2 separate regions of the Homo sapiens genome follow, and region 1 is linked to region 2. The links are contacts of gene promoters, found by promoter capture Hi-C in blood cells and fetal thymus (Javierre and others, 2016). All regions are on one chromosome and are shown on one strand. Each heading gives the region's core, a stretch centred on a gene start or on the middle of the fragment in contact. The rest is flanking DNA. Distances are from core to core; before and after follow the strand shown.

What was found. The method cuts DNA at HindIII sites, captures the fragments that hold promoters and counts their contacts. A CHiCAGO score of 5 or more calls a contact.
Region 1: a contact is called between a fragment that was not itself captured here and the fragment with the promoter of CNOT3 in region 2, in 1 of 17 cell types (naive CD8 T cells). The highest score is 5.3, in naive CD8 T cells.

Annotation. Positions count from the first base shown.
Region 1 is chr19:55,604,320-55,610,902 of GRCh38, reverse strand. ZNF865 (zinc finger protein 865) reads right to left here and starts at 5,256. Exons shown (of 2, transcript NM_001195605.2): 1 at 5,171-5,256. RefSeq lists a silencer at 4,988-5,487 and enhancers at 5,531-6,082, 6,083-6,583. The HindIII fragment of the contact is 2,248 bases long and covers 3,834-6,081 here.
Region 2 is chr19:54,132,899-54,140,417 of GRCh38, reverse strand. CNOT3 (CCR4-NOT transcription complex subunit 3) reads right to left here and starts at 2,656. Exons shown (of 18, transcript NM_014516.4): 1 at 2,425-2,656. The HindIII fragment of the contact is 20,819 bases long and covers 977-7,519 here.

The sequences.
Region 1 (6,583 bases), core at 3,708-6,207, 1.5 Mb before region 2:
GTGTTCTTCGCCAGATTTCAACAAGACTCCCTCTGGAGCCTCCTTGGGTCTCTACTCAGCACTCCCCACCCCATCACTCTCCAGTCCCTCATCCAGCCGCAGGTGTTTCATTATAGTTATTGCCACCAACTCATGTCATTCCTTTTCTGTGTGTTTACTGTTTGGCCCCTCTCTAGGAAAGCAAGGACTTGGCCTGTCTTGCTCGCCCCTGTGACCCCAGCACTTAGCGTAGCACTGGCCCAGTGTGGGTGCTTGACAAATATCTGCTGGTATGTGAAAAGGAAACACCACCTTCCTAAATTACCAATGGGTCCACAAAGAAATCATACATTAGAAAATGCTGGCCAGGTGCGGTGGCCCACACCTGTAATCCCGGCACTTTGGGAGGCCAAGGCAGGAGGATCACCTGAGGTTAGGAGTTCGACACCAGTCTGGCCTACATGGCGAAACCCCGTCTCTACTAAAAATACAAAAATTAGCCAGGCTTGGTGGTGGGCGCCTGTAATCCCAGCTACTTGGGAGGCTGAGGCAGGAGAATCGCTTGAACTCGGGAGGTGGAGGTTGCAGTGAGCTGAGATCGTGCCACTGCACTCCAGCCTGGGCAACAAGAGCGCGACTCCATCTCAAAAACACAAACAAACAAAAAGCAAAAAAACTGCTTAGCAATTAATGAAAATGAAAACACAACATACCAAAGCTGAGGAGGTGCAGCCAAAGCAATGCTCAGAGGGAAATGCACAGCTGTGAATGTCTATCTTGGTATTTGTGGAATGAACAAAGCGATGAGACTAAGCTGATCAAACTCCCAGAGGAACGGAGGGGGACATGTAGCAGAAATGGAGCTAAATGATCCCAGGAATTCCTGGGAGAAGCAATTCTGGGGACAGTGATGTTATGAGGAGGGCACTGAGGGCAGGGTGTGGAGATGCTGAAGGGGATACATCAGTGGTGGACAGAATTGATCAGGCTTATGATAATCTCCACTAGGAAACCAGAAACATTCCCTCTTTCATACAACTCAAGCCTAAACTGGTATCTTTTTAAGAGGGGATGTCATAGGAGGGTTTTATGCAGAGAGAAGCATGATGGGGAGGGACCCACCCCTCCACCACCACCACCAAGGGACAGGAGTCCCACAGCAAGTGTATTAACGGTTCACATTTATTGTTTGACCAGTTTGATATTTGTTATTGCCTGGAGGCAGCACAGTCCTGTACCATGACTGGGCCCATCTTATAAGTGGGGAAACTGAGGAGCAGCATGGGGAAGGCATTCCTCCAAGGTCATGTGGCCAATAAAGAGGAAAGCAGGTAACTGATTCCAGGTCTTTCTGATGCCAGACTGTGGGCCGTTCTGCTGCAACAACGCTGCCTTGTGATGAAATTCTGGTTTGTTAATAAAGAGTAACGTGCGCATATAACACTGGATGTGTGCTTTCTACCAGCCCAGCACTCTTGTAACTCTGATGTGTGTGAGCTCAACGAATCCTCCCAGTAACCCTAGAAGATGGTTACAAGCATTGACTCTGAAATACAAAGGAAGAGACTGAGGGCCAGAGAGATAAATTAAACTTCCAAAGTCAGGCCAGGCATGGTGGCTCATGCCTGTAATGCCAGCACTTTGGGAGGCCGAGGTGGGTGGATCAACTATAGTCAGGAGTTCGAGACTAGCCTGGCCAATATATAGTGAAACCCCGTCTCTACTAAAAATAAAAAAATTAGCCGGGTGTGGTGGTGCACACCTGTAGTTCCAGCTAGTGGGGAAGCTGAGGCAGGATAATTGCTTGAACCCAGGACACAGAGGTTGCAGTGAGCTCACGCCACTGCACTCCAGCCTGGGTGACAGAGTGAGACTCTGTTTCTCAAAAACAAACAAACAAACTTCTAAAGTCACATTGTTAACTAGTGGCAGGGCCAGTGGTTGAAGAAAGGCAGCAAGGCTCCAGAGTCCCATCACATGCTGTCTTTCGGTATTTCTCCCTCCAAAATGAAGGAGGACCCCCGCCCCCAATCCCACTTCATACTGGAAACATGCATTGCTCCACCCATCTCCCTGCCAACAAATCCCAAGTCTCTTGGCTTGACCCAAGACCAGAACAAGTCACCAACATTTGTTGACCTCTAACAAGCATTGTACTTAGGTGCCTTATGTGGCTTGTTTCATTCAAACTTCACAACAAATGTGTTATTATTATTCCCATTTTACTGACAGGAGGACTATAACCAAAGCATGTCTATCCTCGGTCCCAAACCAAACAGTAACCCCATCTCATTCAAAAGCCACAGTCCTGACTGGGCACGGTGGCTCACGCCTGTAATCCCAGCATTTTTGGAGGCCAAGGCAGGCGGATCACCTGAGGTCGGGAGTTTGAGACCAGCCTGACCAACATGGAGAAACCCCATCTCTACTAAAAATACAAAATTAGCTGGGCGTGGTGGCACATGCCTGTAATCCCAGCTACTCGGGAGGCTGAGGCAGGAGAATCACTTGAACCCGGGAGGCGGAGGTTGCAGCGAGCTAAGATCACACCACTGCACTCCAGCCTGGGCAACAAGAGCGAAACTCCTTTTCAAAAAAAAAAAAAAAAAAAGCCACAGTCCTTACAATGACCTCCACAGTCTCCTGGCTGCTCTTCCCATGTGCCCACTCTATTCCTGCTGCAGGGCCTTTGCGCTGGCTGTTGCTGTTGCCTGTAATATTCTGACTCTCAGGCAACCATCTCGCTCACCCCTTCACCTCCTCCCCATCTTTGGTCAACTGTCTTCTCAATGAGCCTCTCAGTAACCAATGACCTGTCACCCAGGCCCACATCCTCATCTCCCTAACCCTGCTTCATTTCTCTCCTTACTGCTCAGCATCATTTATAACCTCACATAATCTACTTCTTTGCCTTGATTTTGTTGGTCTCCCCATCCAGATGATCGGCTTCCTGAAGGCAAGGATTTTTATCTCTTGCTCACTGTTCCATCCCCAGGACCTACAACAGTTCCTGGCTTGATACATTTTTGTTTGAAGAAGTGAATGAATGAGGCTAGGAAAGGAGGGAGTGATTTGCTCAAAGCTGTGAACCCTAGTGGAATCCAGGGCTCATCCTCCCAATCACTTCGCTCCTGGGGTTAGGGCGCTGTTAAGAGCAGCCCCCAAGTGGGCCACAGTTGTCCAGGAGAAGGGGAATTTTTACTCTTGTATAACTTTTTGGTGTGTGGCTTTTGGGAGGGACAAGATGACAAGACATAGGAAAATCCTGGGGGAGGCCATCCTGAACCACAGCCCCCCAGGTCTATCTCTTTATCCCGTGATATTCTGAACACGCACATATACTCTTGGTTTTTGTTTTTATTTTTTTTCACTGCAGCCTCGAACTCCTGGGCTCAAGCAGCCCTCCCACCTCAGCCTCCTGAATAGCTGGGGACTACAGGTGCCCACCAACCACACCCAGCTTTTTTTTTTTTTTTTTTTTTTTCCTGTAAAGACAGGGTCTCACTATGTTGCCGAGGTTGGTCTTGAACTCCTGGCCTCCAGCGATCCTCCCACTTTGGCCTTCCCAACTGCTGGGATTACAGGCATGAGCCACCTCGCCTGGCCTGTATTTTGTCTTTTAATCATCTGCCCCCTCAACTAGCATATCCACTCCATGAGGACAGGGATTCTTGTCTATTTTGTTCTCTGTTGTACCCCCAATGTAAAGTAGGTGCTCATTAAACAGTTGTTCAACCAGTGTTTACGAATGAACGTATGAATGAATGAAGAACATTCTGGGCTCGGTAGAGCTGACAAAGGCTAGATAATTTATCCCAGTGCCCTCACCTCCAAAGCCTTTTGAGACCAAAGCTTCCTTCCTCTTGTTCTTGCCTTCAAATCTTCCACTCCACCCTCACCGGCCTCCCCTGCTGCTCCTCCACTCACCGTGCTCACCGCCACTTCAGGGCCTTTGCACTTGTTGTTCTTGCTGCCTGCTCACCCAGATCTTTGCATGGCTAAGCTGCCACTTGTAATTCAGCTTTCACCTCTAAAGTAGTTCATCAGGCTCTCAGAGAACCCACAAAACCCCGTGTATCTTTGTCGACTCGTGTCTGATCAACTAGACTGTGAGACCCCGCACAGTGAGAACACTGTGTGTATCGACCCCCTTCGTGGCTGTATATTATACCCTTCAGCTAGAATAGTGAATATGCGTTCAACGCAGAAGGAATGCCTACGAGAAAAGAAGTCACACCCTAGTGAAGTCCAGGGTCTTCCCTAGGGAGTCCAGGACGATAGCCTGAGAGCTGGGTGAGAAGCTGCAGGTCAGGGCAACAGTTGTTCACGCCATAGGAAGAGGATGAGGCACATTCTGGGAAGGAAGGCTTCACCGCCTCACTGCGGGACACTGTTCTGTGGCAGAAGTAATGAAGACGGGCTGACCGCGATGAGGGTGGGGTGAGAGGAGGTACGGGAGTATGTCATGGGAGCCTGGAGCTAAGCAGGCGGATATTTCTACCTGAGGCGGGAGAGGATGTGAGTGTGAAGGAACTCTAGAGGGAGCTGTGCCGCTGCGATGGGGGGGTGGCTTTGAAAGGGGCATTCTTAAGGGGAATCACTGGAGGACCTGCAGAAGGGAAAAAGGCATTCTTGGTGCTGACCAGAATAGAAAGTATTTTCACACCCACGAAGGGGCGTTCTGCTGGGGAGGGAGGTGGTCAGGGCCATTGGGGGCTGTTGCTGTATGGACAGAGATAACGGGGGACAGTTCTGCTGCAAGGCACTAAGGAAACACTCTGGGGAGAATTATATAGAGGATACTAATAAGAGGGTTCACGAGCAGCTGCCCTACATGGGGAGGGGCAATGCTGATGGCATCTGGAGGCTGACCTGGAGGAAGCAATGACGGGGAGCGCTATGTGGAGGGGATCCTACGAGGAGGTATCATTTGGGGGCCCTGGCAGCCGTTTAGGGGATCGCCACGAATGAAAGCGCTTTGGCAGCCATCCTAGCTGGGGGCGTTCATGGGGGAGCTATCTGCAGTGATCCTACCGGGGAGCAGTGATTGGGGGTCCCTTGGCAAGGGCCCGGCGGGAGCTGCACTGACTTGCTAGGGGTTGGGGGACGTTCTGGGGACCACAGCGGGCCAGGGCGGGGCCCCCCGCCCCCGCTGCACCCGGGCCCCCGGGCCACGCACCCCGTCACTCACCGGCGCCGGGGTCTCCGCCGGGAGGAGGCCGAGGAGGCGGAGGAGGCGCCGCCGCTCCGGGGAGACCCGAGGGCCCGACCGGAAGTGCCGCCCCCTCCCCCCTCCCCGGCAGCCCCGCACCGCCCGCCTGCCCGCCCGCCCGGAAGCGGAAGTCGCGCCCGTTCCCGAGGCGCCGGCGTGGAGGATCGGAAAGAGGAGGCGGTGGCGGGGACCAGGAGGGGGGAAATGCGCTTGCGCACTGACTCGGGGACGCGAGCAGTGAAAGCCCGGGCCGATTCCGGTGGGCGAACTGAGCCAGGTGCGCCTGCGCTTTGAATGCCCGCCTCTTCTACGGGAACCCCGCGACACGCTCTGGGCGTCCGGTTAAGCCACACCTCCGGCTCGGGTCTCACACTGAAGCCCCGCCCCCTGGCCCTGAACCACGCCCATCTCACAGCGTGATTATAAGCCCCCTACTGCCTCAAAGTCTGTCTTCGTCCCCTCGCCCTCATGCAGTTTCTCCTGTTCTTCCCCCTCTCCAAGCTCCCACTCTCTGGAACTTCACCCCTCCCTAGGCCCCGCCCCCTCCATCCAAGCCCCGCCCCTTCACCCCATAGCATTTAAGTTGCACCTCGTGACTTTTGAGTGCCTCCCACCTCTAAAGCATTCTTTTAAATCGGTGGTTGTCAAGGATAGTTGGGAGGCCAGCAGCATCCGGCTGCCTGCTCAGACCATGCGGAATAGAAGCCCTGGGGTTGGGGGTCTAGGGATCCGTGTTTTGAAATACTCTGATTCTGCTGCATGCTGGTCAAGAGCCATGGATTTACCACACTTGACACTGCCCGCTCATATAATCGCTATAATCCCGGCTCCCAACTCAGCCCCATCCCAAACAGCCAAACCCAGACCCATTCAGCCCCTCCTGCTAAGCTTCCACTCTCCCAGGAACTTCCCTTAGATTAAGTACTTCCTTCTCTCCCCATCGCCTCCATAGCAGTCGTGCGCCCCCATCAGCACCTTCTAAGTCCCACCTCCAATACCCTGTTCCCTCAGAGTTTCTCCTTTAAGCCCCGGCCCCCGGCCCTCGGCCCTGAACCACGCCCACCTCAGAGCTGAATTATTATAAGCTCCGCCCCTCACCTTAAAATCCGTTCTCTTGGCCTGGCGTGGTGGCTCACGCCTGTAATCCCAGCACTTTGGGAGGCCAAGGCAGGCGGATTGCTTGAGCACAGGAGTTCAAGACCAGCCTGGGCAATATGGCAAAACCCCGTCTCTACAAAAAAAAAAAATACAAAAATTAGGCTGGACGCGGTGGCTCACGCCTGTAATCCCAGCACTTTGGGAGGCCGAGGCGGGTGGATCACGAGGTCAGGAGGTCAAGACCAGCCTGGCCAAGATGGTGAAACCCCGTCTCTACTAAAATTACAAAAATTA
Region 2 (7,519 bases), core at 1,407-3,906:
GGTGGTGATCGCAGGTCCACTCTCAGGCGTGAAGAACCTGTGCTCCAGCAGCAAAGGCTCTCCAAGAGCACTGAGGAATCTGGGAACCTCGGCCCAGGAGGAGACTTACCCAAGAGGAACACACATCCCCACAGGGAAGGGACCCACAAGGCGGGTGGCGGGGTGGGGGGAGGTGAGCAGGACACCAGCCTCACAGGAGCCAACACGCTAAAATCAGAGCCAAAACCAGTAAAGAAGAGCCCCCCAGACTTCATCTCAGGGAAGATGATACCACCACACAAAGACTCGAGGAGGGAGGGGCAGGAGGTCAGCCCTGGGAAACTAACACCGGGTGGTCCTTAACCTTGGGGGCCGTCATGTGCCCACAGAGTGGTCTTTGTCATGAGGCACCTTTGATCTGGGAGAGCTTCCGCCTCTGCAGCAAGGAGCTCTGAGAAGTGATGTTGAAGGGTGATCCTTAACCCAGGTGGCTGCTGACGTGGCCACACAGAGGCTCTGAGACTCCAGAAGAAGGATGCGTTAGGGCCTGGGGTAGAGGTAGTCATCTCCACTGAGATGCCCCATGCCAAGGGTGGGGGGCTGGAATCTCCCACCTTGGAAAGTCTACACCAGAGAAGTCTCTGGTCCCAGGGACAGGGTCTACAGTGGAGTCTCCCGCTTGAGACTCAGGTATCTTACATCCACACAGCCAGGAAACTATGCCTTACCCCATACAGTGACAAATCAAGAGGGGGTTTTGGAAGCATTAGCCGGGGGCACCTGCATCCGAGAGGGGTCCTCAGCCTTACGGTGGGGACACATGCAGAGGCGTGGACACCTCAAATCCAGAAAAGCAGCCATACCAATACCAAGGATGGCAAGAACCTTATCCCTGGGGGAGGTGACACCAAGAAAGGGTCCTTACCCTGGAGAGAAGGCACAGCCCCAGAGGGAAGAGCCCCCACCTCGCAGTACAGGAACCCGGGTCTAGGAAGCTTCCTACTCTCATGGGGTACCAGCAGCGGGGCCAGAAGGCGAAACCCTTGTTCTCCAACTGCTGACACCCAGCGTAAGGGTAGATGGGAAGTCAACAAACCCACAGTGTGGGATCTGATGCAAATATCAAGGGCAGTGGGCTTCTTGGTCCTTGGAGAGCTGACACCCTAAAGGAGGAGACTGGTGTGAAGATGGAAGAAGCCTCATACTCAGGCAGGGGTGAAGGGAGGGAGGGGAGACATCAAAACCCCTCACCAAAAGGACAGGAGAGCTCACCCCGGGGTGGGTGGCCGCCCTGCACTGAGAGGCAGGGACTGCTCAGAAAGAGGGGCTGGTGCTGCCCGCAGTGGGAGCTCACTAACATGGACAGCGTGGCGGCTTAGTGTCTTTCACCAGGCACCTGAGCGCCAGGGGATCCCAGCAGCCCCCAGCAACAAGACCACAGTGGTCCTGATATCACTGGGAGACGCCCACACCCAGAAGGTCGGAGAGTCACGATGCAGGGGAGTTCAAGGCTGCAAAGCCAGGGGCAGACGCCAGGATCAAAGAAGTGTGAGAGCTGAGACCAGACGTGGGCCACACTGAGGACGGTCCTGTACCCCAGGTGGGGGAAAGCCAAACTCCCCCAAAAAGGCAGGCGCCCAGTGCAGCGGGATGGCGAGGCTGGAGCCACCCAGGGCGCTACTCGCTATGAGAGGGAAGAGCTGCAGACTACAGAGGTGGAAACTTCGGCAAAGGCTCCAACTAACGGGGAGTTTCTCCTCCACTCCTCTCCCAAGAGGCTCCCATCCGATACAGACGGGCAGCTGGAACCTGAGATCCAGGGGAGGCTGCGCTCCCGGGAGCAGTGAGGAGGGATGCGGAGGGCGGCCTCGGTCCTGGGAAGGGTGACTCCCCCACCCAGCTGGGGTCCTCGTCCCGACCACCACCCCCCCTCCCCGCCACCGTCGAGGGAGAAGCCCCGGCGCGGAGGCTGCCCCACAACGCGAAGGACCGAGGCCGAGGGGGGCAGGCACCTGAGCCCCGAGAGGGCGGGCACCTGGGACCAGGGGCGCCTCCATCCTTCCAGCCAGGAGCCAATACCGACGCGGAGAGGGGCGGGCACCTCGCGCCCGGGAGGCTTCGCACCCTCACACCCCTACCGGGGGGCCCGACGCGATGCCACGCGGGGAGGCGGCGGCGGGCGGGGCCCGGGGTCCGGGTCGCGGAAGGACCCCCGGGAGGCGCTGAGGAACGTGAAAGAGGCGCAGGAACGGGAGGGCGAGAGGGAGGGAGCCGCCCCCCGCCGGGAGCCCCGCGCTGCAGAGGCGGCGGCAGGGGGCAGGCGAGGGGAGGCCATGTCGCGACAGACGGCGGTGTCGCCAGGGCGGGAGGCGGCGGGGAGGGCGGCCGATGGCGCCGGGGGGAGGAAGGGAAGGGGTCCGGCCCAGTCGAGCCTGACGCTCTCACCACAGGAGCTGGCGCCGCCGCTGAGGAGCGTATCGCGACAGGCGGGGGAGGCGAGCGCCCGCCGCCTTTTTCTCGCGCCCCGGGCCCGGGCGCTATCGCGATAGCGGCGCGAAGCGGAAGTGGGGTTGGGGGAGTGGGCCCGGGGTTGTTCTGACGACGGGGGTCGGGGCTCAAGGGAGGCCGCGGCGTCTGCCGATGGCTCCGCGGAAGCTGACCGGGCCCGGTCCAAGATGGCGGCGGCGGAGGAGGCCTCCCCTCCTCTCTTCTCGTCTCTGGCGCCGACCCGCCCCCGAGTCCCGAATATAGGCCAGTCATTGCTCCCGCTGAACGTCGCTCCTGACCCTTGGAGGCTTTCTATTGGTTCCTGGCAGGGATGCGCCCTGCCCCCTTTCGCGGATTGGGTGATCGCTCCAAGGCGCGGCGTTCGATTGGCCTCCCGCGCAGGCTGCTAGGATTGGCTCAGGTTTTCCTCCCCGCTCCTCCTCCTCCTCCCGCCTCAGGGCACAACACGCCAGCGCGAGGACCCGAACGTCAATCAAGAGACCTGTGTCGTGCTGATTGGATGTATCCGCCCCCCTCTCTTAAAACAATTGGTCTGGGGGAGGAGCTACGACAGTCCAGGGGCGGGAAGTCGTCCGTCAAGTTTAGAGCTCTTTTTAATTGGTTGCGGGGGCATATTCTGCCTTGAAGTCATTGGTTGGTCCTGGAAGTGGGTGGGGAAAGCGGAGGAAGGCATGGAGTGTGGGCGTTAGGGGCCGCGTACCTAATGGGAGACAGACAGGTGCCTTTAAAGCGGGGGCCGAGCCGAAGTCATCTGCCAATCAAAACAGCCACAGGGCCAAGTGGGAGGAGCTGGGCAAGAAAGTCCACCCCTTTTTCTTCGTTGGCCCTAAAAGTTATCATTCATGCTAGTTGGACCAATAGCGTGGCGAGTGGGCGGTAGCTGCTCGTAGAGCGTGTGAAAGAGGGTGTATGTAGCTGGCAGAAGTGGGACTTGGTCGCAACCGTTGCGTCCCGGCCAGGTAAGCAGCTTCCCTCTCAGCTGCCTCGTCTTTCTCCAAGTGCCTCTATGTTGGCACATCTCTGAAATTCATTATTTGCTGAGTGAAAGAAGAAAGGGACCAGAGACACTGCTTTAAGTCTCTGGCACCGTGCATAGCAGAATTGGTTGGGAAGCGTGAGGCATGGAGTTTTTGTCCTGCCCCTGCCTGGTTAGGCGACCAGATGGTGGGACAGTCATTCTCCTCTGCGTCTCCGCTTCCTTAGTGTGTTGAGGACGCTGCAGAAGGTACAGAGGAGACGGGTGGCTCCCTAATGCCTGCTCGTTTCAGGTCTCAGCTCTGTTGTCTTCTTGGAGAGAAAACTTCCCTGACCTCCCTCCCGGGCGGAGCGCTCCTGCGCGCCTTGTTCGTTAGGATTTATTTTTGTACGTCTACCGTCATTTTCGTAATTATTCGGTTTCCCTGTCTGGATTTTGCATCTCCAGCACTTAGCACGCAGGAAGTAGTCAGTAACCATTTGTCAAAGGAATAGATGAATGAATGTGAGGAATGACTTGTGATTGAAAACTTAACTAGACACTGAGACTTCCACGAACTGGGAGGCATTTGCCCAGGGTCACACAACCGAGATGGGAAGCCAGATTCGCCCCTTCCTGTCTAGGTGGTGGAAAGTAAGATAAATCCCAGGGAGAGGTGAACGTGAAGGAGGATGGAGCCGTTCAGCACCACCCGCATCAGAATGGTCTGAGGCAAGGGGGAGGAGGAATGCTTGCGAAAATGCATATTCGTAGGCCCACACACAGACAACGGGAATGAAGCCTAGAGTTATTGTTCTAGAGCTTTGCTATTCAAACTGTGGCCCCTGGACAAAGTATCGCTTCTCAGACATCTCCGGAATCACCTAGGAATGTGTTAAAATGCAAATTCTGCTTTTCTAACAAGTGCCGCAGTCCACGGTCCGCAGTTCACTTTGCACACCGCGGATCTAGCGATGACTTTCCAACTTGGCTGCACATCAGAGTCACCTGAGGAACTTGTTGTTATTGTTGTTGTTGTTGAGACGAAGACTTGCTCTTGTCCCCCAGGCTGGAGAGCAGTGGCACAATCTAGGCTCACTGCAGCCTCTGCCTCCCGGGGTTCAAGTGATTCTCCCGCCTCAGCCTCCCGAGTAGCTGGGATTACAGGCGCCCGCCACCACGCCCGACTAATTTTTGTATTTTTAGTAGAGACGGGGTTTCACCATGTTGGCCAGGCTGGTGTCGAACTCCTGACCTCAGGTGATCCGCTCGCCTCAGTCTCCCAAAGTGCTGGGATTACAGGCGTGAGCCACTGCGCCTGGCCTACCTGAGGAACTTTAAAAAAAAAAAATTTTTTTTAAATTAGAGGCCAGGCCGGGCCGGGAGAATCACTTGAACCCGGGAGGCAGAGGCTGCAGTGAGCCTAGATTGCGCCATTGCACCTGTAATCCCAGCACTCTCAGAGGCCGAGGTGGGCGGATCACCTGAGGTAGGGAGTTCAAAACCAGCCTGGCCAACATGGTGAAACCCCGTCTCTACTAAAAATACAAAAATTAGCTGGGCATGGTGGCATGTGCCTGTAATCCCAGCTACTCGGGAGGCTGAGGCGGGAGAATCACTTGAACCTGGGAGGCAGAGGTTGCAGTGACCCGAGATTGCGCCATTGCACTCCAGCCTGGGTGACAGAGCAAGACGCCGTCTCAAAAAATAAAAATAAAAAATAAAAAAGTCCAGATACCCAGGCTTACACTGGACCAACTAAAACGATCTTGAGGTGGGAGCCAGTGTCTCTCTCACCCAGGCTGGAGTGCAGGGGCGCCATCTCGGCTCACTGCAACCTCTGCCTCCCAGGTTCAAGCCATTCTCCCACCTCAGCCTCCCAAGTAGCTGGGATTACAGGCGTGAGCCACCGCGCCCAGCGTAAGAGCCGCTTACAGAGTCTTCTTTTCTAGAGCAGTGCTTCTGAAATGTGGCCTTGGGTCAGGCACGTACCCATCACCTGGGAACTTGTTTGAAAGGCACATTTTTGAGCCCCACCCTAGACTGAATCAGAAACTCTGGGCCCAGCAACTATGTTTTAACAAGTCCTCAGTGTAATTCTGAAGCGCATTAAATTCTGAGAACCTCTGTTCTGAAAGTACGAGGGCTGCAGGCCCAGGCGACTCAAGATTCCTTTCCTGAGATTGACACCCTCATGCCACAGCCCCATTGGTAGATGCCGGATATTTTGGCCAAGGGAGATGGGGGATTCTGAACAGGGTTGTGGACCACGGGTCCTTCCCTGGCAGACCAGTATGTAGAGATCAGCAAAGGTTGTCATTTTCAAACAGGGTTGACCCAGAGGGTCAGGGATAACATTGAGAAAACAGACTTGAGTTATACAACCTGGGGTAGTTCAGCCACTCAAGGGAACCTCCTGAGTGTGTCGACTTTTTGACTTGAGGAAGGAGAGAGATTTAGAGATTGCCACTGAGGTCCAGAGACAGAGCTCTGGGTTGAAGGACAGGGATCCAGAGATACACAGAGTGGTGACGGGGAGGCCCAGAGAGGGGAACAGAAAGAGCAAAATCTCAGACAGGACCTAGAAAGTCAGAGGGAGACCCAGATAGCATGAGCTGGAGAGAGGGAGGGAGAGAGAGAGAGGGAAGGTGGAGAGAGGGAGGGAGAGAGGGAAGGTGGAGAGAGGGAGGGAGGGAGGGAGAGAGGGGAGGTGGAGAGAGGGAGGGAGAGGGGAGGAGAGAGGGAAGGTGGAGAGGGAGGGAGAGGGAAGGTGGAGGGAGGGAGAGGGAAGGTGGAGGGAGGGAGAGGGAAGGTGGAGAGAGGGAGGGAGGGAGGGAGAGAGGGAGGGGAGGTGGAGAGAGGGAGGGGAGGTGGAGGGAGGGAGAGGGGAGGAGAGAGAGGGAGGGAGAGGGGAGGTGGAGAGAGGGAGGGAGGGGGAGAGGGGAGGTGGAGAGAGGGAAGGTGGAGAGAGGGAGGGAGGGGGAGAGGGGAGGAGAGAGGGAAGGTGGAGAGAGGGAGGGAGGGAGAGAGGGGAAGGTGGAGAGAGGGAGGGGAGGTGGAGAGAGGGAAGGTGGAGTGAGGGGAGGTGGAGAGAGGGGAGGTGGAGAGGGAGGGAGAGAGAGAGGGGAGGTGGAGAGAGGGAGGGAGAGAGAGAGGGGAGGTGGAGAGGGAGGAAGAGAGAGAGGGGAGGTGGAGAGAGGGAGGGAGAGAGAGGGGAGGTGGAGAGAAGGAGGGAGAGAGAGAGGAGGTAGAGACCTGGAGGCATCATCTTCCCACCAGGCTGCTGCTTGTCCTGGTAACATCTCTTAGGTAACTAACAGAAGCCCGACCTTGTAGGTCAGGTGACTAGCGCTGCCTCCTTAGTACCACCGTGTAGCCCAGCTCCGGAGCACATAGTAAATGGAACCCCTGGAGTTGCTCTTCCTTAACCTCTCCAGGGAGACGGTTTCATGCCACCCGCTAGGACAGCCCCTGCTGTCCCCTGGAAACTCTCCTGACTGTCTGCAGGCCACATTCCCCTCAGTCCAAGTAAAGGCGCTCCTGGCCGAGCCCCGGTTCCCGAGACTCAGTGACTGGAGGTCAGGGGAGGGGAAGTGTGCTCCTTCTGCTCACCTGGCAGGACTTTTATAGCAACCAGGTCCTACCAGGGCAGGAAGCCTGCCTGCTTCGCCTGTGCCCGGCTCCACACAGTCCCTCAACACTGGTTATAAATAAGAGGCTGGGCCAGGCACAGGGTAATCCCAGCACTTTGGGAGACGAGGCAGGCGGATTAGTTGAGGTCAGGAGTTCGAGACCAGCCTGGCCAACATGGTAAAACCCCATCTCGGCCGGGCGCGGTGGGTCACACCCGTAATCCCAGCACTTTGGGAGGCCGAGGCGGGCAGATCACAAGGTCAGCAATTCAAGACCAGCCTGGCCCAAATGGTGAAACCCCGTCTCTGCTAAAAATACAAAATTAGCCAGGCGTGGTGGCGGGCGCCTGTAATCCCAGCTATTCGGGAGGCTGAGGCAGGAGAATCACTTCAACCTGGGAGGCGGAGTTTGCAGTGAGCCAAGACCATGTCATTGCACTCCAGC